Regions from separate parts of the Homo sapiens genome. Here region 2 is linked to region 1. Evidence: promoter capture Hi-C in 16 types of primary human blood cells and fetal thymus (Javierre and others, 2016). All regions are on one chromosome and are shown on one strand. Each heading gives the region's core, a stretch centred on a gene start or on the middle of the fragment in contact. The rest is flanking DNA. Distances are from core to core; before and after follow the strand shown.

Region 1 (6,356 bases), core at 1,871-4,370:
GGTAGCCTCTATTTGGCACAATTTCTGGGCTACAGGAAAATTAGATAAAGATTTATTGAAGAGTTAATAAATTATTGAATTCACAATGCAACTGTTTGGGCTCTCAAGTTGACTGTCTGGGCTGCCCTTGGCACCTTGCCCCTGGCACTGAGGCCTTAGTCTCTTCAGCAGGCCCAGCACAAAGAGCAGCAGGTTGGGAACACAGCCCCATGGGAATTCTGTGCGCTCCTCATTGAGGCCCAGATGTTTCCCCATGATAAAGAGGGAGGGAAGCAGTGGGCCCCTGCAGCGCTGCCCTGAGCATGTGGATGCAGCATCCTTCTGTGCCCATATGTCCTTGTCCCTAAGGCCATCATCATCCTGGTTGCTTTAGATGCAAACCAAAGACAGGAAAGTGCATCAAGGCCTTGGTTCTGGTTTGCCAGGTGGGGTGGGGTGAGGCTCCAAAGTCTCCCCCTAGCTATTAACAACCTGCTCTTCAAAATTTCATTTCTGATGTGATCAGTCTGCTAATATTTTTGAGTAACTGCTTCGTGCAAGCCCAGAGCTATGCTTCTAATGAATGTCTATGAATGGATGATTACATTTCAGATAGACGTGGGAAATATTTACTGTATCAAATTTAAGAGGCGGCAGAAAGCAGCAATTATTTTCATTTTGAAATATTCCAAGGCTCTGCTCCTGTCTGAGTTGTCCTTTTAGAGCCCTTTTACCTTGTCTTTAAGTTAGAATTAATTAAAACCAAGGTTTTAATCTAAAGAGCCAGGACTTGCCAACTCCCATGACCATCTCTGGTTCTTTCACCTTTTTTTCTGCCTGCACAGCTGCCATCTGTCCCGGCAGGCCTGGGTTTAGCTGCTGCCTCCTCAAATTCCCCAGGCAAGGCCTCTGCAGGCAAACCAGGTTTCACTCTCCTGCTATGTCCCCTCTCCACCCGGCTCAGCACACCGTACCACAATCACATCGGCAAACTCTTGCTCCAAGAGTCTTTTCAGCTCCCCTCGGGTGAGCGCTGTGCAGTTGCCCTCCGTCCTTGCATAGCGCCTGAAGGCCTCGATGATCCCATTAATGTTTTGCAGTAACTGAGGCATCTTTGAAGTCAACCTGGAAAAGATGAAAAGTTCCCTTGGAGGCTCCATAATCAACCTCAGCTATTTCCTTTATAGCACGTCTGCTGCTAGGTCTTTCCTTGCACGTTCAGCTCTGTTTTTAGTTTTCCTTTGTCCTTTCCTACATAATGCATCTTATGTATGGGAAGGAGGAGCACACAGGATGGAGGCAGGTTCCTGAGTCAGGATTAAATGCTGGCCCCACCACTTAAGTATGGTGTGAGCTGGGACAAGTTGCTTTGCCTCTCCATGCCTCAGTTTACTACTCATTGTAATTGAAGGTGATATTAGTACTCTGTGGGATTATTGTGAAGATTTAAAGACATAATTCATAAAAAGCACTTGGCAGATGCCTGGCTTATATTAAGTGCTCCTTATTAAATATAATTATTATGCTATTATATACATATACACACATATAATTTTTGTACACCTATATAATCACTTTCCTGTACATCATCTCTTCTAATCCTTATTATTTCCACTTTTTTTTATAGGTGAGGAAACAGGCTCAGAGAAGTTAGGCCACACAATTTTTAAGGAGCCAAGAAATCCTAGGATCCATTTTTCCTTAACCCAAATGCAATGGGCTTTCTAGAATGTACCCTGTGGACAGGATTTATTTATTTATCACAAGGGTGTTAGGGTCCCATCGGGAACACCAAAAGGAAGTAAATACATCTGTGAGTCAACCCCTGTCTTGGATGGGAGCCAAGCAGAAATTCCAGGGACACAGCCCTCCCTTCTTGTTTTTTTTGGGAAAGTGGGAAGAAACTGGGCTACCACCTGCTGGGAATGCTCAGGAGGGGGGAACCTTCTTTGGGTGGGAGGCCTTCCAGTTCTGAGGGTCCAAGTTTCTCTGCATGTCGCCTCTGTCCACAGCCCTGAGACTTATCAGAGAAGTCAGCTTGCCCAACAGGCACGTGGCTCCATCAGGCCCAGATTTCTGGTGACCTATGAGTTGGTTCCTAATCAAAGGGAAAGCTTTTCTTTTTCATTAGCCAGAAATCTAGAGGTAGGTTGAGGTGAGGCCTGGGTTTGGTTGCATGAGCAAAAGGAAAAGAGACTTGAAGATTCATTAAGCAGAAGCCTTGGAGAGACCCAAAGGAGGAGATGGTATCAAAGATGACAAGTCTCAAATGCAAGGGGAGATGGAGCCTGTAGCAGCTGGAAAGCCAGAGAGAGGATGGGACGAGGCAGATATAGGTAGGAGAAGAAAGAGAAAAAAGGAAGGAAGGAGACTTGAGTTCTAGAAAAAGCAGATTAGTGTGGCCATGAGGACTCAGTAAGTCATAGCAAAAGGTGGGCTGTTCAGGAGAAACCCTTTCTAGGACCTGGTAACCAACAATTTCAGGCAAACTTTTCATCAAGGTAAAAAACTGGGGATGTTTTCCTCAACATAGATGAAAAATATCTTTCTTTTTTTTTAAAACCATGTAGCAGACTTTAACCACTGACCTTTAGATAATAAAATAATAAGATGACCTTTTAGTTACATTTTAGATTCCTTAGAAAAATCTACACATATTTTGCCTAAATATCACCCTGGTGTAGGAGAGGGGAATCATGTAAACCCCTTCATCCATGACACAGTTTGATCTTATTGTCTAGGTTGGCATAAGTAAACTGATTCTGATCCCATAGACTCTCAGCACTGCAAAGAAGCTTCCAGAGCCTTAGAAAAAAGAAACCTTTGCTGATCCAGGAAGGCACATGGGTGGCCCCATAGCCGCTGCCCACACAGTTTCCCAGTGAGAGGAGCTGCTCCCAGGCCAGCCTCAGGGAGGAGGAGAAAGCCTGATTGCTTCAGGAGAGCATGTTTCCCAACGGTAGCGTTGGTTTGCCCAGTGCTCACAGCTAGCTCTGAAGGATGCATAGTCCATACCTGACTGCCCCAGTTTTATGAGCTCAGATCACCAAGACACTGAGAATGAGAAAGAGGTTTCTTATGAGGGGACTTACCTAATGCCCAGGTGGGATGAAACAAGTGGCTGTTAAGTGGTGTGAGGAGTACCAGGTCAGTGTGATGAGAACCTTTTATAGGGGTTTTAACCAAGGCTCTTGTTTTAGACAGGATATCCTGCCCTATGGGAAGGCTTGATTCATCCAAGATCCAGCCCAGCCCAGCCACACCTCCTCTTGTCTCTGTTTTACCTGCTGATGTGTGACTGCCTTGGTCTAATTAACAGGCCCCTCCTACCACATTTGGTACCTTCTGTAGCTGAGTCCTCTTGACAGGGAAGCTTCTTTCCATTGTGATGGGCTCAGCAGTGCTTGGTACAGGCTGGGGTCCTGGTGAACATTCTTTGTCTCTATGAGCCTACAAAGTTATGGGACTCTTTCCTTTTTTTTTTTTTTTTTTTTTTGAGATGGAGTCCTGCTCTGTCGCCCAGGCTGGAGTGCAGTGGTGCGATCTTGGCTCACTGCAACCTCCGCCTCCTGGGTTCAAGCAATTCCCTGCCTCAGACTCCTGAGTAGCTGGGATTACAGGTGCCTGCCACCATGCCCAGTTAATTTTTGTATTTTTAGTAGAGACAGGGTTTCACCATGTTGAACAGGCTGATCTTGAACTCCTGACCTCATGATTCACCTGCCTCTGCCTCCCAAAGTGCTGGGATTATAGGTGTGAGCCACCGTGCCTGGCCACTGTTTCCTTTTTTAATATAAATGTTCAAGAATATATCTATTGAGGTTAACTTTTACAAAGTAGCCACTCTGAGAGGGCACACATGTTTTTGTGGTGATGTTACTTAGAACTGTTATTACTTAGAACATTTTTTGAATTCTTGTTTTGTAAGTGCCTTTCACACCTAGTGTATGAGACACAAGAAAGCCAGTTTCATCTCTTTAAAGTTGGTCTCATTTTTAATTAAAACAAAAAAAGTTAATACCTTCCCCACCCCATGCTATGGGTAGGTAGCATTTTGTAGCTGATGAGAAAAAAGGCTTACCATGATCATGTGGTAACTCCTCATTGCAAGGACAGGAAACTCAACTGGTGGCTAATCAGCAAATATTTATGGAAAGCTTGCTCCATTTCAGGCAGAGGGCTAAGGCCCTAGGAATACAGTGTTGAATACGATGGCAGCAGTTTCAACTCTCATGAAGTCTATAGCCTGGCCATCCCAGGGGTAAGTCCCCAAGAGGTTAATGATAATGGTATTGCCATTTCATTTCATTTGATTTTATTCCATTTTCATTACCATCTCATCTTATTTGATCTCCCTAGCAATCCTCTGAGGTGGTATGGCTAAGCCCAATTCATAAATGAGAACACTGAGAAATCCTCAGAGAAGTAGCCACTCTGTGAAGCGGAGACGGTGCTGGACTAGAGCCCCTCAGACTCCAGGCCTGTGTTCTCTCTGTTGCACCATGCTGCCATTTATTCTTCTCTCATTGAGTTTTGGCACCTTATGAACATCACACTTATCCTCAATGCATGAAGAACCATTCCTGAGGAGGAAGTTTTCTGAGCTCAGAAGCCAAGTCCCAAAGAGTGCTCTTGAGTGGCACTTTGCAGATAATATATACTGTGTAGCTTCCTGAGTGACTCTGGAAGGGAAAGCCATCTTTACCATCCTCACTTATAGATCAGCATGCAACAGACAGGAAAGGGAACAACAGGATAGGAAGGCATGGTAAGGGCCTTGGTTGAAGAGACTGGTGTATTGAGGGCAGCCCTGTAGCAACAGCACAGCCTCCAGCACTTCCCCTCAGGGCACAGAGCACTGGGGAGTTCCAGACTGCAGGAGGGCAGGATGCAGGCTTTGTGTTTGGAGAGATCTGTCTACATGGGGACAGGTTGGCTCCAGTCCTGGGGTGAAGGTGGGGTAGGCATACCAGCCAGGGAAAAGCAGAGTAGGGGCTTCAACCTTTGGGAGCAAGAGGGGGCTGAGGTTGCTTCTGCCTGATCAGAGTTAGAAGAAGGCCAGTATGAGAGGGTGAAGTTGGAGAACAAGAGGGAGAGCCGATTAGACCTTCTTCTGTGGTGGTGTTTGAAGCTTTTTCTGATGGGGCTTAGAACTTCCAGAAAGGTTTGGGAACTGAGGGTAAGTTAGGGAAGTAACAAGCCAGAGGCTGTATCTAGAAGATGAATATTTGGTAGGTATTATTAACCCAATTTATAGATGAAGAAACCAAGGCACAGAGAGTAAGTAAGTAAACTTAAGTAAACTACCTAAGGTCACATAGCTAGGAAGTTAGACCTGAATTTGAACTTAGGTCTGCCTGCCTCCAAAGCCTAATAGGTCTTTATGTGTGCCTGGGGCAGGACTGAGCTGTGAGGAGCTGGGGCACCATAGAAGTAGAGGTTAAAGAACTGTATGTGTGTGCTGGGCCAGTGGAGGTGGGTTGAAGTGTGCAGGTGGGGCTGGGGGAGATGAGTTGGCAGAGATTGGGACTGAGCCTGTAATTGACTGTGTAAGTTTGTTAGTTTATAAAGTTGGTGAGGAGATGTTATAAGTTAGTGTGCAAGTTGTCAGAATCAAAATGGAGTCACTTGTCTTCAAAAAAATCCTTGACAAATATAGAGCTAAGGAAGGCTGCGAAGAGAGAGTTCTCATGCTTGTACACCTGATAACACAACTATCACAAAAGACTGCAAAAACCACAACCTTACACAAAGGCCATAATAGCCTTACACAACAAACACTTCTGTGAGGACATCAGTCCAGCAGCTGCCTGTCCAACTTCATATTAGCATCACCATTGTTATTGATCTTTGTAGCCAAGAATACACATTTCAATAAAATTATGTAATTTTCATTGTTTTTCCTGTAAGAACTTTTGTTTTCCTTTACCTCCTGAATATGCACGTAGTTTACTATGGCACATGTATTCCCATTGCAATGCCCTATTCTCAAATAGGTAACTTTTTTTTTAAGAGAGATTCACTGTGGTTATTATTTAAGTTGACATTAGTGAGTCTACTTAGCAGTTACATTTTACGGGTATGCTGGAGGGCAGTGAGACCAGGTGCTGGATCAGCAACTCAGCAATGAAAACCCAGTTTTGCACTTTGACTCCTTCTTATACACTTACTCAACAATGTATTGCTGACCTCTACTTGATTTATTTCTACAAGATACAAGCAGTATTTGCCACACTTAGTGGGCTATAAATTAAGATTGCTTTCCAGAAAATTAGCCCAATTGGGCAAACAGGCTTTACACACCAAAAATAGTTATTTTAAAATGAAAAGTAGAAATTTTTAGAATGCTAACTAAAAAATATTGTCAAATATCACAA
Region 2 (6,145 bases), core at 3,439-5,938, 240 kb before region 1:
GGCTGCACCTGCTGTATGCAAGAGAAGAGGCTGGGAGTCCCCTCTGCAGGGTGTTCATGCCCCATCTCTGTGCCACGAGGAGTTGGGCTGCTGAAGGTGAGTACAGGGAGGTTCCCTGTCATCTCAAACCTCTCAGGCTCCACAGTACTGTTTCAAGTATCCAGAGCTTTCCTGCCTTTGAAAAGCAAAAAGTTGTCTCAGGAGAGACAGTGTGATTTTTGCAAGGTCATGCAGGGTCACACAAGTTAATAGCAAAACTATAGTCAGAATTCAGACTTTCTAACACAAGCATATGACATGTATACTTGTCCCAGGACTCTATGTTCTATGTTTTCCTCTTGTCACATTTATGGATCCAGTCCAAGGCAGAGAGAACATGACTCTGAGGTCAGGCAGATCTGCAAGGGAATAGCAGTTCTTCTCAGGATTGTTGAAGAAATTAAATGAGCTCGAATATGTGAGTGCCTAGCCTAGTACCTGGCATGGGGGGTTATGCATTCAGTGTGTTGCTCTCCTTCCCTTCCAAGGTAGCCTGGCTGTTATCTCCTTTCTGGAAACTCATTGAGCATCAGAGATCTTGACCTCCTTGGGCACACTCCTGAGTTTATTTAGGCCTACATTTATAGGATGTGTCAGGAGCTCAAGTACTTTATGAACAGAGATTAATTGCTCTTATGATTTAATGCATTGGCCACCCACACTGGTGAGATGCTCCCTGAACTATGCTATTTGAGAAACAATGAAGGAACTTTGTGAGGCTAATAAGATTTGTGCTGTTAATTTAAGTCTTGAGGATGTGGACTACAGAGAGTATAACATTTTATAGAATTTGTTTAAAGCTACACTCTCATCTTTGCCATAACCTGGCCTTTCATAATACATTCCCGTGGCCACCTAGCATCATGGGTAAGGCTCTCATCAAATGCTTCTTGGAGAGCAATGCATCTTGCAGAACAGGAGGTGGGAAATTTCCACAAGGGAATGACTATGAATGGGGTGGGAGAAAGACAGGGAAGCAGGGGAAGATCATTTCCATTATTTGTTCAGTGGTGATTTTGGGTGAACATCTCTCTTTAGTCCAGAATGGGCAGGAAAATGATATGAATTGTAATTGTTGGCAAGTGCGAAATAATATATTTAGTGAGGAATGTAGTGTGAAGCACATGAAACTGCACTGTCAGGAAGAGAAGTTGAATCTGGGGTCAGAAGAACTGGTTTCCATTCCTGGTTCTGCAAACTGCCATCAAACTTGAAGGACTCATTCTGAGGCAGAGAATGAATAAATCATTACCTTTGTGAAGCATCAGAATCAGCAGCACTTTCCTGTCCCAGGAGAAGAGGGAAGGGGAGGATGGCACGTTTCAGGGCTTAGGGGAGGATAGGGGAGAAAAAGTGAGAAGGGAGGCTGACAGAAGTGTTGCAGACACTGCAACACTTGCATACTTAACACTGTATACTAAAGTAGATGTTAACCTGCGCTGCAATCTGTATATGCTGATTCAGCTGTAATCCAGTCGCTCACTTGTTACACTCTTACATTTTCACCAGTAAGTAGTCCTTGTGCCTCCTTGTATGGGTGGCCCAGTCTCTGATACTAGATCAGCAGCTTCAGCTTCATGCAGAGTCCTTCCTTTGAAAAACCAGCTTTTGCTTGATTTTATTATAGGATCTTGGTCTCATGTTAGTGTCTCTCTACCTCAGTCTTCCCAGAATGTAGGAATTCTTGCCCATAATATTAGGCCAGTACTTTTGTTCTAGGCTTATCTCAACAGACCTGATATCCACCTTTTCTCTTCCTATTACTCAGTAAGCATCCATCTTTAGATTGTGAACATACAAGACGCTGGCCTTTATAGGGCCTCTTATCTCTGTCACAGCATGGAGTTTTCATGAAAACAAGGGGCTGAGAACTCTGCTGGCACATAGTAGGCACTCAGGACAGGTTAGCTGCTTTCAATATTATTTTTCTGTTCGTAGATGTCTTAGCATGATTATTATTTTTACTGAAACCCACCCAAATTATCCATATGGAACAGTGGGCTCTGACCCAGGAAAGGGGGGCCCAGGAATTACTGTACTGCCTGTTGAGCACGTGCCTTAGTGTGTCCATCTGTCTGCTAACCTCTTGGCTGTGTCTACCGGCACTGTGTTGCCACCTCCTGTGCAGCACTCATCCTCTGTGCTGCTCTCCTGGCTTGCCTGTCCTCCATGCAGAGCTGTGGCCTTCCTAAGGGCTCCATTGATGGTTTATTCATCTTTGTTTGCCCAGCTCACAGCTCAGCTCCTAACGTACAGCATGCTCTGGGAAATGCCTTCGGGTGAATAACTTAAAAAGGAGAACCAAATGATGGATGCCACTGAACTGTGTACAGAAAATGAAACAGAAATACTCTTAGCTAACTTGGCTCTAGAGCCAGACTGCCTGGGTTTGAATGCTGGCTCTGGTGCTTATGAGCTGGATGAGCTTATACAGTGACTGGCACATAGTAAGCCCTCAATGAATGTAAACTATGATTATTTTTTATCATCATCATTATAAAAAGTCTTTAGTGGACTGGCTTCTTAAATACTGAGTGCAGTTTTGGCCTCCAAAACCCATAAGTAAGAAGTAATTTTGAAATATTAGAAAAAGTTAACTAGAAGGTGATGACAAAGAATCTCCTACTTCAAGGCCTCTGTAGTTGCTGTTTCCACAGAAATACTGTTCCCTCAGTCACATGATTTAATTCCTCATTTAATTCAAGTATTTACTCAAGTGTCACCTTATCAGAAAAATTTCTGGCCATCCTGTAAATAGCAAACTTTTCCCACTAATTCTCCATTCTACTACTCTGCTTTATTTTTCTTCTTGGCACTTATTACCGTCACTTGAATTAGTACATATTTGTTCATTTATTATCTCTCTCCCCCACTAGAAAGTAAGCACCTTGTAGCCTCAGTGCCTAGGACAGTGCCTGGCATGGTGGGTAAATGTTTGTTGATAGGATTGAGTGGTAAAAGCAAGTCTCTTCATTTAGAGAGGATGACAGCAGAGAAAAGGTTAAGTGGAAGACTATAAGATCAAGAAAGGCCTGTATTATATGAATATAGTTATAATCACAATTACCTAAAATACTAGAATAAGGAAGTCCCATCTTTTTAAGGCTTGAAAAAGGTAAGATTAAGACAAAGGGAAGGAAGTTTTATTTTACACAACAGGGCATAGTTTAGGGGAATTCCTCGATCCAAGAAGTGGTGCCTTGTGGAAAGTAAGAATCTGTTCATAGATTTCTGGAACATCTGGGTACCTTTCTAGCCATTTAGCCTTGGGGGTTTCGTTAGCTTTCTTGCATTCTGCTCCTGGGGCCTCAGTTAGAGGCAGGCTCTTGTCTGAAGACACATGGGGCTGGTGTCAAATTGGCCATTTTGGATGTTTCTATGAACCAACATAATGAGAGAGAGAAGTGAGAGGGCAAAGAACAGAGGTTGTTAAGAGCAAAGAGGAGGGATGGAGGGTTGGAAAGAGACCGAGTGGAGAATAAGGGATTGGTATTTCCCCTGGGTCTTCACAAGTGGGAGACACAGGGAAGAAACCCTGGCAGAAGTGTTTACATTTGAAAAGTTTAGAGGACTACCATAGACCTTGGGTTAGAAAGGTTCATGCATTCTATGGTTTCTTCATTTAACAAATGTTTATTGATAACCGACTATGTATCAGACACTCTTCTAGAGATGGAGTTTGCAGCAGTGAAATCCTGCCCTCATACAGCTTTTACATTCTAGGCTGGGGATACATACAATAAACAAAGAAGTAACGTGTGTATGTCAGTGCCAAGTGCTATGGTGAGAAAGATACAGGGAAGGGGACAGGAAGTGCTGGATGGTGGGTGGAATGGGGGGCAGGGACAGGTTGTGATTTGTAACTGGGCAGGTGACCAGCGAAGGCCCCTCTGAGAAGGTGACATTTGATAATGGCCTGAAGGAGGCGAAGTTTTCTCTCTGGCTTCAACCAGAGGCCTCCTTGGTCCTGGGCAGCTGGGTTATTTATGTTTAACTGTGTGCTCCTGAGTCTCATTTCCTTCCCTGGCCCAGGCTCTCTAGTTTCCTTTACCCAGTAAATATTAGGCGCTGGGGACACACCATGAACAAGACAGAGAGGCTCCATGACTCTGTGGACCTTTCAGTCCAAAAAAAGGAAATAGGTAAATGGTTATTACCCAACAGTGTGAGGGATGCTGCATTAGGACATTTCCAGCTCAGAGCAGGGCATTGTTCTTACTAGAGGGTGATTAGGAAAGGCTTCCCAGCTGAGATGGAATCTTCAGTTGGAGTTTGTCTTTTCTTCATTTCCAGTCCTTTGTCCTTGTCTTCTGTCCACTCCTTTCTTTGCTGAATATTTCCTCAGATTTCAAGTCCCATCTCACATTTCTTGTTGTGTTAGACATCATGACTGATTTTTCCTTGGCCTCTACTTCCCAGTTTAATGAAGATAATAGCTATTGCCACCCACATACTCATAAGAATGCAGAAGTGTTACAGGGGATTAATGGCATTTTAGGATTAAGGACATGATGGTAGTTTAAAAGCTTTTAGCGCCTCCTAAATTAGGAGATCTACCTGACATTGCTAAGCCTCTCAGATTTCGCTGTGGCAATAGTTCTGTTTCTCCTTAGGCTCACACTAGCTACTGTTTGGAAAATTTGGGCACAATTGTCTTGGGTGTTAAGTCCTTGTCCTTTGGACCCCACCTCTTTCCCTTATAGGACTTTGTGATAAGAGAGCTTAGTAATGTGGCACTTGATGAACTTACAAGGGATGTGACAGGTGTCAGGGAAGCTTGATGATTGTCAGCCACAGCCACAGTGGGAACTGATGCAGACTTCTCAGTAGTTCTCTTGTTCTTGTGTCACAGACCCCACTGATCTGGGTGGGGGGGGCACCAGAGGCCTTAGAAGCAGGACACCTTTCTCTATCTGGGTCTTCATAATCTGTCCTGTCTTCTATTTCTGACTCCATCTCCCCTTCAAAACTCCCCTGCTCTACTTAAAATGATCTCTTTGCCTAGCCTTGGGTGCATTTCCACATCTCCAGTAAGGTGGTAAGTCCTCTGAAGTAGGTTTCATTCTCCCCTCAATCTCTTTAAATCTACCCATCCTTCAATGTCCACTCCCAACAAAACCACTCGAGTTCTTTAATCTCTCTCCAACCTGCACTTGGGGATCACATCTTATCTCATAGAGCTTCTTTGGTTCAGATCAACATCTACCTCCATATAGAGTCGTCAAGCTGGAACAGACCAGCACTGCTTAGCTCTAATCCAGTATTTTTCAAACTGTGTTCCTTGGCACCTGTCAGGGGCTGAGCTGAGCAGACAGGATTCTGCTGTTTATCCCCATTCAACTCACTGCTTTTATCTTTAAAACATCTGAAGCTTTTCCCTGAGGAAAGGATTCTGCAGTCAAAGAGTTTGAAAACTATAATATCAAATTTGATTTGTTTGTAAAATGGAAATAGAGGCCCATGTACACAATGGCACATCGCTAGGCAGTGCTGGAATCAGCACCCCAGGATCCCAAGACCTATGCTTCCTATTAACAGAAAGTATCAGTGGAGTTGTGATGTGCTCTGTTGTACTATCTAGAGTGAATTAGAATCTCTTTGAAATCATAAAATGTCTTATATATCCTCGTTCTTTGGCACAATGCCTTGCTCATAGACGCTTAACAAATATCAGCTGCCACTGCTGATGGTGATGACAAGGGTGACACACATCTAGCAAGCCCCCTGAGAGTACCCTGGGTGGCTTTCTTGGCTTTGGCCCTTCCACTGATGTGCTTATGGCAGTGGCTGGGCCCTCAGTTCAGGCAAGGCACCTCATGGGGATCCTAACTGTGCTTTTAGTTATCTGCAAGGTCAACAGGAACCAACTCTGCCTTTATTCCTCATCCTTTCACCACTGGCCTTAAAGCTGCTTCACCAGGAAACTGGAATACTCCCTAACAAACAAAGTGTCCAAGCTTGTGTCTGGCTCCCTTGCCTGAACTCCTCTTTCTACTCTGTCTACACATGTTTTTAGTTTAGTTTAGTTTAGTTTTTTGAGACAGGGTTTGCTCTCTCCTCCAGGCTGGAGTGCAGTGGCGCCATCACGGCTCACTGAAGCCTCAAC

What was found. The method cuts DNA at HindIII sites, captures the fragments that hold promoters and counts their contacts. A CHiCAGO score of 5 or more calls a contact.
Region 2: a contact is called between a fragment that was not itself captured here and the fragment with the promoter of CRNN in region 1, in 4 of 17 cell types (total CD8 T cells, total CD4 T cells, naive CD8 T cells and 1 more). The highest score is 6.4, in total CD8 T cells.

Annotation. Positions count from the first base shown.
Region 1 is chr1:152,411,143-152,417,498 of GRCh38, forward strand. It overlaps CRNN (cornulin), which reads right to left and starts at 3,121. Exons shown (of 3, transcript NM_016190.3): 1 at 3,072-3,121; 2 at 954-1,104. The coding sequence starts at 1,091. The HindIII fragment of the contact is 578 bases long and covers 2,773-3,350 here.
Region 2 is chr1:152,168,325-152,174,469 of GRCh38, forward strand. No RefSeq gene overlaps it. Among named protein-coding and RNA genes, the nearest start is that of RPTN, 12 kb to the left of the region's middle. RefSeq lists an enhancer at 1-431. The HindIII fragment of the contact is 250 bases long and covers 4,564-4,813 here.